Linked DNA regions of Homo sapiens: region 1 is linked to region 2. Evidence: promoter capture Hi-C in 16 types of primary human blood cells and fetal thymus (Javierre and others, 2016). All regions are on one chromosome and are shown on one strand. The core of a region is centred on a gene start or on the middle of the fragment in contact, and the rest is flanking DNA. Distances in the headings are between cores, read along the strand shown.

Region 1 (6,797 bases), core at 1,251-3,750, 37 kb before region 2:
CCAGGAGGAATTCGAGAGCATTGAGGAGGCGCTGCCTGACACTGATGTGCTCTACATGACTCGAATCCAGAAGGAACGATTTGGCTCTACCCAGGAGTACGAAGCTGTGAGTGCTGGGCTTGAGGAAGAAGCCAGGGCTGCTGCCGTAGGGCATCAGATATGAGGACAGAAAGGCTGGGCTGAGGGCTGGGTCAGAGCTGTTAAACTTCACATCTGTCAATTGCCATAGCTGCATGTGGGTGTGGAGGGGACCCCAGTGGAGCCCAGACTTGTGTCCTCTGTAGCCACTCCTACCCCAAGGCACTAATGGGGACCCCATCTGCTTTGCAGTGCTTTGGTCAGTTCATCCTCACTCCCCACATCATGACCCGGGCCAAGAAGAAGATGGTGGTGATGCACCCGATGCCCCGTGTCAACGAGATAAGGTGGTGCAGCATCAGAGTCAGAGACTGCCTCGGGGCTGGTGGACGGGAGGAGACTTAGTCCTGGACAAGCCATCCATGGGCTGCACGATAACACTTCCTTTTTTTTTTTTTTTTTTTTTGCAGCGTGGAAGTGGACTCGGATCCCCGCGCAGCCTACTTCCGCCAGGCTGAGAACGGCATGTACATCCGCATGGCTCTGTTAGCCACCGTGCTGGGCCGTTTCTAGGGCCTGGCTTCCTCAGCCTCTTCTCTTTAGGCCCAGCTGCTGGGCAAGGAATTCCAGTGCCTCCTACGGGGGCAGCACACTTAGATATTCCTGGACATCCAGATAGCTCACATGTGCTGACCACACTTCAGGCTCTGGACTGGAGCTCTCTGGCATGGGGGTGGGGCCTCAGATGCTGGGGCCCAGTCTGCCCCATCTTCATTCCTGCACCTTAAACCTGTACAGTCATTTTTCTACTGACTTAATAAACAGCCGAGCTGTCCCTTGATGCTGAGTGTAGTAGAACAGAGCTTTCTTTTAGAAAATTGAGCAGATTCCCAAATTATAAGAGCAGCCTCACCAGGCAGGGCTCTGGCTAGGGCTGCGTGCCCACACTCGGCATTTTCACACTCGTGACTCTTTGGGACTCGGCAGGAGCGTGTTAACTCTGTGCTCTCTGAGTCCTGTGTCGTGCTGATGCCAGCGCTTACCTGGGGGCTCTGGCTGGTGTCCAGCCCTCCTTCCTCAATTCAGTTGACTCAAAGACCTGACAGAGAGTTCTGCCCTCTTCCTGACACTGGGAGAACACTCATCAGGGTAAAAGGAAGGCTGAGCACTGCGGCCTGTCTGAGGCCAGGCCTGGACTCTTCCTCACTCTTTCTGGTTAGTCCTCCTCCAGTGGCTAAGGCTGCCATTGCATTCTCAAAACCACCCTGGAGTTCTTCAGCCACTGTCACTATTAGGAGCCCCTCCTATTTCCCATCCCTGGGAGCCTCTGCCTGACATTGGACAGAGGGGCAGATGCCATGGAGGGCTGAGGAGCACTTTGGCTTGGAGACCCCAGGGCAGCAGCCTAAGGGCAGTAGCTTATGTGTCTGTGGGTGAGGGCTTCTGAGGAGCAGCTGTGCCCTCCAGTGAACTTGAGTAGCATTGGAGAAATCTCATTTCTTGTTCCAACAAAACTTAGCACTCTGTGGGTACAAAGCACCATGTGCAGTGGGAGTACAAGGAAGAACAAGGCAATTCTCACCCTCAGTTTTCAGCCTCGGGTCATAAGGCTTCCAGTGGCTTCTACAGATTAAACTGCTGCACACTGGCACATGATAGTGCAAACTGCTCTGACACCATTCAGGAATCACCTACTTCATCCAGAGAGTAACAGCGTATTCTAGAGATGAGAAAAGGAGAAGGACCTCGTTTTTTGAGAACTTAGTGTGAACAGGAACTTGATGCGTATTCTCATTTCTCACACCAGCCTTCCACCCATTTCACAGATGTGGACACTGGCTCAGAGAAGTGGTGGGGGCCGGTGGCTCACCCCTGTAATCTCAGCATTTTGGGAGGCTGAGGCAGGCGGATCACCTGAGGTCAGGAGTTTGAGACCAGCCTGGCCAACATGGTGAAACCCTGTCGACTAAAAATATAAAAATCAGCTGTGTTTGGTGGTGTGCGCCTGTAATCCCAGCTACTTGGGAGGCTGAGGCAGGAGAATCGCTTGAACCCAGGAGGTGGAGGTTGCAGTGAGGCAAGATGGCACCATTACACTCCAGCCTGGGCAACAGTGACACTCTTATCTCCAAAAAAAAAAAAAAAGGTGGTAGCTTGCTGGGCCACTCACCTTGAGACTCATACGCAGGACTTCTTGACTTAACAACCCACCTTTCTGTTAAAAGGAAAGGTCATTTCTGGCTTTAAGGGCATCCAAAAACCAGTGGGAAAGACAAGCCACAAATCTAAGCAGTCCTGTAGGGAACCAGTTTCCAGAAGAGGTCAGCACAGATACGGAGTCGGAGAACCCTGTGCCGTGGGGTGTGAGCTGTGTCGTGAGGAAGGACGAAGAGTCTCCTTTACAGTACAGTTCGAGAGGAATGGAAATTGTGTCTGCGGTACAGTGAGGAGACACTGAACGCAGCAGGAGATTCCTACTGAGTATTGTGAGGGTTGAGAGTCTGACGGACCAGAACAGGGGGCTTGGATGTCAATTCCAACAAAAATATTAATTTACAACCACAGGTACTATTTGAAGGAGGGTATTAAGTATAATGCTAAGTCCTAGAGTGTGGAGGCCTCCAGTCCTGCTAATGTTAACCCTTTCCAGTCTTTCCAAACCCAGATTCCTGCCTGACAAGGTCTCCCTCAGGTACCTGGAGGACTTTATTGGTTGGAAAATAGAGTACCATTTCCAGAACTCTTCTTTTTCTTTCTAGAGACTCCATTTCCTTGCTTAAACTCTTAGAACAAGTCAGAGATTATTTTCCCAATTGTACTCATGAGTACTTGGGACTCGCACACAGATTCCCACAGAACTTGGATAGCCTCACCCTCAAGTAGAAGCAGTGTTTTCTGCCAAGTAGCGGACGCATTTTACTTAGTTGCTAAGTGGTGGGAGATGTTCCTGTCCTGAGCCTTTCTTTGGCTCTCCTAATCATAGCTCAGCTCTGAGTTGAATAAAGTTTTTTCCCGTATGACCAGAAAGTAAATCTCATTATATTGGGAAACAAAATGAAAAAACTTACCAGCAAAAACCAAAATTAGCCCTTTATTTTTTAAAATTTTTATCGTTTTGAGATGGCATCTCGCTCTGTTGCCCAGGCTGGAGTGCAGTGGTGCAATCTTGGCTCACTGCAACCTCCGCCTCCCAGGTTCAAGTGATTCTCCTGCCTCAGTCTCCCGAGTAACTGGGACTACAGACATGTGCTACCACACCCAGCTAACTTTTTGTATTTTTAGTAGAGATGGGGTTTTGCCATGTTGGCTAGGCTGGTGTTGAACTCCTGACTTCAAGTGATCTGCCCGCCTCAGCCTCCCAAAGTGCTAGGATTACAGGCATGAGCCACCGCACCCAGCCAAAATTAGCCCTTTAATACAATACCTTTGGGCCTGTTCCACATCCACTGAGAAACAACTTCATATCTGCCATGTAATTGTCATGAAGCATAAAAAGTTAGTTTGCTTCCTGAGGTACTTAAGAGGTTTGATCTATTTCTTCTATAAGAAACATTTATATGCCAAGCACTGTTCTAAGCGCTTTACAGATACATCCCTTTGACACTTGGATGAATCCTTTGACTATCCCCCACCTTGAAAGAAGTGTGGCTAACGTTGGGTTGCTATTACAGCCATTTTCTCCCACCTCTTCACTGTCCACCCTAGTGAAGGAGACATCCCCCTCAACATAGGTAGTCCACCGGGAGCTTTGTCAGCTGCACTCTAGTCCTGGCCCTTACAACTAACTACCTGCAACCATGGCAAGTCAGTATGCCTGTGGGCTTTTATTTTTTATACTAAAATTTTGTTTTTGAGACAGGGTCTCATTCTGTCACCCAGGCTGGAGTGCAGTGGCACGATCTCAGCTCACTGCAGCCTTGACCTCATGGGCTCAAGTGATCCTCCCACTTAAGCCTCCCAAGGAGGTGGGACCACCATGGCCATACCACCATGCCCGGCTAATTTTTTGTGTTTTTTTTGTAGAGATGGGGTTTTGCCATGTCGTCCAGGCTGGTCTCAAACTCCTGGAGTCAAGTTATCCTCCCCACTCAGCCTCCAGAATAGCTGGGACCACAGGCACATGCCACCACACCTGGCTAATTTTTGTTCTTGTTTTGTTTTATAGAGATGGGGATTCGCCATGTTGCCCAGGCTGGCCTATTACTTTTTTTTTTTTTTTTTTTTTTTTTGAGACGGAGTCTTGCTCTGTTGCCCAGGCTGGAGTGCAGTGGCGCGATCTTGGCTCACCGCAAGCTCCGCCTCCCGGGTTCACGCCATTCTCCTGCCTCAGCCTCTCCGAGTAGCTGGGACTACAGGCACCTGCCACCACGCCCGGCTAATTTTTTGTATTTTTAGTAGAGATGGGGTTTCACCGTGGTCTCGATCTCCTGACCTCGTGATCCGCCCGCCTCAGCCTCCCAAAGTGCTGGGATTACAAGCATGAGCCACCGCGCCCGGCCAGGCTGGTCTATTCCTGGGCTCAAGTGATCCTCCTGCATCAGCCTCCTAAAGTGCTGGGATTACAGCCATGAGCCACCATGCCCAACCCACCTATAGGCTTTAAAAGGGTAGTTGGCAATTCCCAGTGTAAAATTGCAAAGTGTCTGTAGTTCTGCAGTAATATCCCCTGGGACAATGAGGGGGCATTGGCTGGTGGAGGTGAGGAGCAGAGAATGAGGGCCAGGATGGGATGAGTGCTTAATGGAAGACTCGTCTGGCAACAGTGCCTAGAAGAGAGAAAGGAGCCATTTCACCATCAGGACGCCAATTAGGAAGTTGTTGCAGTAAATACAGATCATGGGTGAAGAGGTTCTAGATTCAGAGATAGGAATAGATGTTATAACACTGAGGAGAGAGGAGAGTGAAGAATGACTGCACAGTGTGGGACCTCAAGACTGGAAGAAAGAAGACTGATGAAGGTAGACCAGATAGCCAGTTTGGGGTAGGGGAGGGCTGATTCCATTTGGGCATGATACCTAGCTGCCGTGGGCCATCTATATGGAGATGTCATGGAGGTAATGGAGCTGGGGAGTTGGAGCAAGCACAATAGAGACAGGTGGCATTTATATGTGACAACACAAGTGCCATGAGAGCAGGGACTTTACTCACTGATGTATCCCAAACACCAGAACAGGGTTGAGCACATAGTAGGTGCTCAGTAAATGTGTTGACCGAAGCATCAACATAAAGGTAATTGAAGCTTTTAAAATATGCATATTTGTTCACCAAGAGAATAGCGGCAAGCCTCAATTTCAGCAAGGGCCGCAGGAGAACTCAGGAGAAAGCCCTCAAGAGGCCCAGAATTCCAAGTGTGTGAGGGACGGGAGACGTATTGGCAGATTCAAATCCTGTAGCAGGCCAAAGAGAAGGAAATTTGAGGCAAGGACCTTGTCACAATAGTTGTTAGGCTGATGCTTTGTGGTGGTAACCAGGTTTCACGAGGTTACTGAGGGACTGGTTTAGAAGCTGAGGTCATTTACCAAGTGGCAAGGAAAAAAATGGGTGTTGAGATTGGGAGCTCAAAGGCTTTAGAGAAGGTCAGGGAAGCTGTGATGAATCCGCAGGAGATTAATAGAGTCACAAGCAGGACTCAAGGGGAAGCTAAACACTGAATTTGTGGTGGGGCTGGGGGAAGCCATGTCCAGGGCAGGGGCGTAGAAGGGCTTGCACTCCCTGGAGGACCCAAGAAATAGAAATGAGCTGGCCGGGCGCGGTGGCTCACGCCTGTAATCCCAGCACTTTGGGAGGCCGAGACGGGCGGATCACGAGGTCAGGAGATCGAGACCATCCTGGCTAACACAGTGAAACCCCATCTCTACTAAAAATGCAAAAAAAATTAGCCGGGTGTGGTGGCAGGCACCTGTAGTCCCAGCTACTCGGGAGGCTGAGGCAGGAGAATGGTGTGAATCCGGGAGGCGGAGCTTGCAGTGAGCCAAGATCACGCCACTGCACGCCAGCCTGGGCGACAGAGCGAGACTCCATCTCAAAAAAAAAAAAAAAAGAAAAGAAATAGAAGTGACTGCCTGCTTGAGAGCACCTGAATTGCTACCATCAAATGCTACCATCAGATACAGATTTATACCTCGGGAATCAGCATGTATGAAACCTGCTTGTTGGCCCATTGGTAGGAGCTGGGGATTAGAAGATATTTTATGGACTTTGCATTGGCCTGACATTTATCTGTTCACCATCCTTCCACCCATTCCTTCCATCACCAGCAGTCATACTGAGCATGTACTTGGTGTCTGGCTGTGAGCTAAGTGCTGGGGGAGCATGCCTTCCTTCAAGGAGTGTGCCGTCAGTAGGCCACTCACCGTTTTACTGTGTCTCCCAGCAGTCCTGTGTGACCACGTCCTGGTCCAGCAGGATGGGGGAAAGCAGGGAGGCCATGCTTGGGCAGACTCCGTGGTCAGGAAAAAGCAAGTTTGTTGTTGTAGGGTCTGAACCCTGCTTATTTTGGTAAGCTTTCTTATCTTTTTAATATTCTGGGTTCAGTTCCCTTCTATTTCTCCCCAGGCTTTTGGCTACAGTCCTTTAAAAATTTATAGCCATCGTTGTTGAGCCAAAGCAAACAAAAGAATGGAATCGGAGGTTAAGGCTGTTTGGGTCGTGTCCTCTGAGTGAGCTTCTCCAGGTCTGGGCTTCTTCCTGTCCCCAGGATGCTGTAGCCAGAGAGCAGA
Region 2 (6,359 bases), core at 206-2,705:
GTGCCCACGGCCATTGGCATTGCCAGCCTCATTCCATGCCACTATGAGTCAACTCAGGAAAACTGCGAGTGCATTTGAGGCTTAGGGGTAGTCATTCCATCTTTAGATTATCCTTGGACTTCAGCTACCAGCACAGCATGCATTAGCCTTGGTCCTGTAGGTTAACTGAAGTTCAAACATCAGTGCCAGCTTGCCTCCATCCTTTTCACATATTATGCAGGCCAATTGACATATAATTTGTTCTTAAAAATAGGGGCATGAAATATGTGATCTGGAAAAGATTGTACTTTCTGGACTCTTTTCCCACTCTTGCCTCTTTGTGCTGCTGTTTCGTATCCTCCTCACACCGTGTATTTCCCACCCACTCAGGGTCACAGCCTACTAATTCCTCAAACTTCTCTCCCTGGACTAGGAGAAAGGCTAAAGAATGTCAGTAAATAAAAGAGCTTTCATCCAATCCCAAGGCATATATTATGCCCAAAAAAGACAAATTGTGTCTGGGGTAGAGAAAAAAGGCCTAAAGAAATTGCTTCTTGGCCTTTTGCCTAAGATCAAGTGGAGAAGACTTGTAGGAGAAAAAGAAGACCAGTGCTCACAAGTGGGGCAAGCCTGGCTTGGAGAGTAGGAGTCCTGGACAACTGTGGAGCTGGGTCAGAGGCTTCCCGGAGCCTTGTGATTATGACTTTGTCAGTGCTCTAAAATTTCCCTGGAGATTGATTCCCTGGGTGCCCAAAATAGGTCCCTGGCATTCAGGTCCTTTCTGCCCAGCTCACCTTCTCCCAATTTCCTAACAAATTTGAGTCCTTGGAGTGGCTCCAGGGATGTGTTCACGGACCAGAATCCCACATTTCCTCGGGGGCATGCTCATAGGTAGGTCCAGGCCTTGGCACAACAGTCATTTCTAGCCTCTTGAGCTTCTTTTCCTAGGGTGATATAAGAAAAGGCCAGGGAAGAACAAAAATGAGCCAGAGGTGTTGGACAAGAGGCTTGATGTAGTCCCTGGAGCTGCTGTTCTGAATCACACAGTCTTGAGGAGGAGGACCAGGGTCACTGGCTGAGCCTGTGGAGGAGGCAACCGCTACTGACTCTAAGTCTGGCAAGATCTTTCCTCCCACCCTGAGCTATGTATGGGTGCCTCTCACACAGGCAGATTTAGATTCTGTGTCACTGTCCTGGAAGAAGGGCCCAAGCCAGAACAGGGGTCCCGGGCTGAGAGGAGCCTTCAGAGTGAGAGGGCAGCACCTTTGCTGACCCACCTTTCACTGTAAGCAGTGGCACTCACCCCTGCCCTTGCTCAAGGGAGTCACCCATTCCTGAGTGAGTCAGGGTCACTCACTCCATGACAGCTGTGGCTCGCCTTACATGAGCTAAATTGGGAATTGGAATGTCATGCAGATGCCCCTTGTCTCCCAACCCCCACAGTAAAATTAATCTGCTCTCTGGGGAGTAAGGGACAAACAGTGCTACCCACAGAGTGAACAAGAGAGAGTCATTTGGGAAACAAAAGGAGAATTTTACAGAGAGAGAGGGATAGCTAAAACTACGTGAGCCTGGCGAGGGTGCAGAGCAGAAAGTAGAGACTGTCCGAAGACTGCTATCTGGGACGAGACAAGTTGTTAAAGGGACAGGAGAGAAAGCAGAGCTATTTCAAGAGTGAGCCACAGAAGGGAATCCAGAGGCCATCTAAGCGAGGAAGGGTCTACAGGCAGTGAGTGAAGGCCAGGAGCAGGGCCCAGGCCAGGCACGACCACCGAGGGGATGAACTTCACAGTGGGTTTCAAGCCGCTGCTAGGGGATGCACACAGCATGGACAACCTGGAGAAGCAGCTCATCTGCCCCATCTGCCTGGAGATGTTCTCCAAACCAGTGGTGATCCTGCCCTGCCAACACAACCTGTGCCGCAAATGTGCCAACGACGTCTTCCAGGTGGGTGCCAGGGACGGGGCAGGGCCAGGTAAAGCAATGCAGACCTGTGGGGGACTGATCAGGTCAGAGCTGAGACCCCAGAAGGTGATGGATAGAGTGCTCTCTGAGGTGGGTGGTGGCTGTTGTGGCTGGAGAGCAGAAGGGCTGGGGTCCAAGCAAATCCCAGAGCAAGCATGAGTCAGCAGCTGCCCTGCAGGCTGGCAGGTACAGCCTGTGCATAGACGGCAGCTGGAGTGCTGGGATCTACCAAGGAAAGTAGACCCTGTGGAAACTGGGAGGGAGGGTATCCCACACCGGGCTTTATAAGAGCCTGTGCCAGACTCTGCATTCCAGTTTGGAGTTTCAGACTTCGAGAGCATTGTGGAAAATACGGAGAAAAGATTAATGAGATAATGAAACGTTAAAAAACAAACAAACAAAACCCGACCCTGTGAGAAAGCTCCATAATGGCAGTAAAACTATTTGTATTTAAGGAAAGTTGAAGGCATCCATTGTGGGTGACAGAGTTAGACATAGTGGGCAGGAGACTGGGAACTCTCCCCAACTTGAGTTCATACCTGTTACCCTCCAGATTGTTCAGTAAAGAGGCCTACTGGTTAAAAGCTACTGAGGTCACTTGACAAGCAGGGAGAAGGCAAAGAAATTTACTTCTCAGAAGTCCAGCCAGTTTTGTTTTATCTGTGGTCATGGGGCCAAGCAGAGCTAATCAAATTCACAGATACTAGTATAGCCACTGGTTTAGAAATAAAAGCAGCATATACCAGAATGGATTATAAGTGGGCTTTTTTTTTTTTTCCTGTGCTACTGGGGAGGTTCTAGTAGGCTATAAAATGGAACAGAGATCAGGGAGAGTGAGGGGCAAAGGCACACACACACACACGCGCGCACACACACACACACACACACACACACACACACACACGGCCTTGCCGTTAAGTAAAAGCCCTGAATATGGCCAGGTGCAGTGGCTCACGCCTGTAATCCCAACACTTTGGGAAGCTGAGGCCAGCAGATCACGAGGTCAGGAGTTCAAGACCAGCTTGGCCAATATGGTAAAACCCCATCTCTACCAAAAATACAAAAATTAGCCGGGCGTGGTTGCAGGCGCCTGTAGTCCCAGCTACTCAGGAGGCTGAGGCAGGAGAATCACTTGAACCCAGGAGGTGGAGGTTGCCTTGAGCCGAGATCATGCCACTGCACTCTGACCTGGGCGACAGAGCAAGACTCCATCTCAAAAAAACAAAAACAAAAACAAACCCCGAATAGACCAGAGCTGGCTGGTTTAGTATGTGTGTCAGTGACATGGAACATCCCAAACAAGTATTCTTCATCTGTGTCAGAAATGATGAGGAAATGTGTTAAACACAAGTGATTTTTAACCTAACCAAGAAAATACTTCCCTTTTTAAGTTCCTTGGGGCAGCTTGTTTTGGAAAGGAATGGGCTGGCTAGGTCAGGCCATCCCACAATGTACCCTGTGACCCACACCTTGTGTGTCTGCTCTGTGCCACCTTCACTGAAGACCAGCACTCTGTGGTCTCTCCTGCCATCTTCCCATTGAGACCCATTCCCTCTCCTATTCTTTATGTGTCCAAACCTGCCATTATTCAGCTCCAGAGTATCTCAGAGCCAGTAGATTTTCCCTCTCGGGGGGCCTAGACCAAATGCTGTGCCTCCTCGTCCTGGGCATGAAGTCCTACATGAGAGGCAATGCTTTGCCCACCATCTTGGTTTTTCCTTGGTCTAAGTAACTCTGAACATCCTTCAGGCTGAGATGCCTAGGAGGGAAATGGCAGAAAGATTTTGCCATCCTTTCTCATGAACTTACAGTGAAACATCCTCACACTGGAACTTGAAATGTGTGAAAGCAAAGAGAAGTTTTGAAAGCTAAGGTGATGTGTCCTGTAGAAAAGTGGTCAGAAGGGCCAAGTGCATTCCTGGGTCCCTCTGTCATCTGGCAGAGGAATAGGCCCCATACATGGAGGCTAGAATGTGTTTAAGTGACCTGCTTATTTAAGTCAACTCTCTCTATCCAAGCACACTGTTTCAGTTCCAGAAAGCTCTAGAATACGGATCTGGGCTCAGAGAGACCTTGGAATGGCTTGGGGCAAATCCTGTACAGAATATTTGGAGATAACATGATACCCAGGGCTTTGGGGTGGCTCTGTGGATCTGGAGTGGTGTATCTTTTGAGGTGCAAAGCACCCTTGGGCCCTCCAAGGAGGAAGAGTGAACAGCTCATCCCTTGCTGCTTATTTGGGAGGGCCTGGTGGGAGGCTGACCCAGTTCTTCAGCTGCACTTAGATCTGTGTATCTCAATATATCTCAGTAGATCTCCCTCTGAAAGATGAGCATATTTAGTTTTTTCGCACATTGCCTCCACATTTTGACAACTGTAGGCATAATCAGATTGTCTGTTTTCTAAGTATGGGGCAAGAATAGGACTTTTGGAAAGAATAGGACTTTTCCTCTACCTTCAAACCACTTAGGAAGAATACCCTTAGAGCATTGCCTAGAAAGTTAACGGTTATCAAAGTGATACCAGTATATCACTTAGAATTTGTAACATGTAAACATACTGTTTTCAAGCAGTATAGGAGTTCATATCATGAAAAGCAAATCTGCTATTCACCTCAGACCCTCAGTTGTCTCACCAGATAGAAGTAACTATTACCAACTTTCTTGGGAATACTTCCAGAAAATTTCCACAAATCGGCACATTTGCATGTATATGTGTTCTCAGGCGAGACCCATCGCCCCCCACCTGCCTTTGTTCACTTACTCGCTGTGGGTGATTGTTCCATATCCACCATTCAGATTTATGTCTTCGTTTTTAAATAGCTGTGTAGTTTTCATTGTTATGACTGGACCACAGTCTATTTAAATAATCTGTCCTCTAAAACATTTAGATGGTTTTCTGTGTTTTGTTGTCCTAAAAACTGCCGTGATGGACAACAAACAAGAGTTTTTGGGAATTGTGATTTTATAAGACCAAGTTAACTAGACAGCCAGGAAGCAAAATTTGAAAACAATTTATTTAAAAATACTGGCTACGTAAGGTGGCTCATGCCTGTAATCCCAACACTTTGGGAGGCTGAGACAGGAGGATCACTTGAGCCCAGGAATTTAAGACCAGCCTGGGCAACATAGTGAGACCTCATCTCTACAAAAAAGAAAATACTGTTAGTTGAACAGTATTAAGGGGTTGGGAGGAAATCATCCATAATCTTACCTCCCCAACACAGTTATTTTTATTTTTGCATATTATTTTTTTTTTTTTGAGATGGTGTCACATTATGTTACCCAGACTGATCTTGAACTCCTGGGCTCAAGTTATCTTCCTGCCTCAGCCTCTGGAGTGCACACCACCAAGCCCAGCAATTTTTGCATATTACATTCAAGCCCATGTCCGCAAACATTTTTACATAGTGGCCATCTTAATGTAATTCTTTTTAGAGCTGTAACAACTCTTTCTCTCTGAATTGAAACAGAATGAAACACCAAGACACCACATTAACCCCCTCTAATTTCTTCCTCCTTCTTTCCCCACACTTGCACCCACTCAGCTACCAAGAACTTCCACTAAAGGAAAGCTGTTGGTGTGGGAATTTGACACAAACATCTTCCCATGTGTTTCTGTATTTGTAAATTCTATTCACTCCTAAACGGCTTTAAAGCAAGCCTTCAGTTTATTTTTATACCTGCCTCCACTTCACTGTGGGCACTTGTTTTTGAGCCTGCAACCTGTTGTAATTTAACAGACAACCAAAAGGCCTTGTAAGAAGGTTGTTCTGGAACAGCTTTTCTGGAGGAGGTCTGTCTACAGAGGGACTTGCAGAGGGGGGATTGTCAAGAAAGAAGCCTCCTTCTCTAACAAGGGGCAGTCTGAGAGAGATGACTTTTGTTTCGCGCCACCCAAATTCCATTTCTTTATCCTTTAGTTGTTAGGACCAGGTGTCATCAGGTACAGGCCTGCCAGAGAAGATCCTACCCAGCCTGCCTCCTCAACCACTTCTACCCATTCTGAAGGCACCAGGATTTCTTCAGTCCAACTTTGGGCAGGTCTCCCTGATGCAAAATTGGTTCACTAAAATTTTGTGAATTGCATTAAATTTGTAGCAGGGTTAGGGCTCTTACTTCTGTAGGGAAGATCTTGATTTAGTGAGAACGAAAACCTAGACTAAGGCTTAGCACTCCTGGATTCTCCTCTGACGGGTTTCTTTGTTAATTTGCCACACAATGCATATCAGGCTATTTCACCACTTCAAGCCTGTTTACATAACTATAAATGAAAAGGGTGTTTTCTTTCTTTCTTTATTTTTGAGACAGGGTCTCATTCTATCACCCAGGTTAAGTGCAGTGGCATGATGATGGCTCACTGCAGCCTCGACTTCCCAGCCTCTAGCCATCCCTCCTACCTCAGCCCCCTGAGTA

What was found. The method cuts DNA at HindIII sites, captures the fragments that hold promoters and counts their contacts. A CHiCAGO score of 5 or more calls a contact.
Region 1: a fragment that was not itself captured here is called in contact with the fragment with the promoter of TRIM54 in region 2 in 2 of 17 cell types (M2 macrophages and M0 macrophages); the score reaches 6.6 in M2 macrophages.

The regions. Positions count from the first base shown.
Region 1 is chr2:27,242,868-27,249,664 of GRCh38, forward strand. CAD (carbamoyl-phosphate synthetase 2, aspartate transcarbamylase, and dihydroorotase) reads left to right here. Exons shown (of 44, transcript NM_004341.5): 42 at 5-106; 43 at 331-425; 44 at 549-1,076. The coding sequence ends at 651. Among named protein-coding and RNA genes, the nearest start is that of SLC30A3, 17 kb to the right of the region's middle. RefSeq lists enhancers at 1-969, 6,591-6,797. The HindIII fragment of the contact is 5,629 bases long and covers 1-5,315 here.
Region 2 is chr2:27,280,974-27,287,332 of GRCh38, forward strand. TRIM54 (tripartite motif containing 54) reads left to right here and starts at 1,456. Exons shown (of 9, transcript NM_187841.3): 1 at 1,456-1,926. The coding sequence starts at 1,759. It overlaps DNAJC5G (DnaJ heat shock protein family (Hsp40) member C5 gamma), which reads left to right. Exons shown (of 7, transcript NM_173650.3): 7 at 1-526. The HindIII fragment of the contact is 12,114 bases long and covers 1-6,359 here.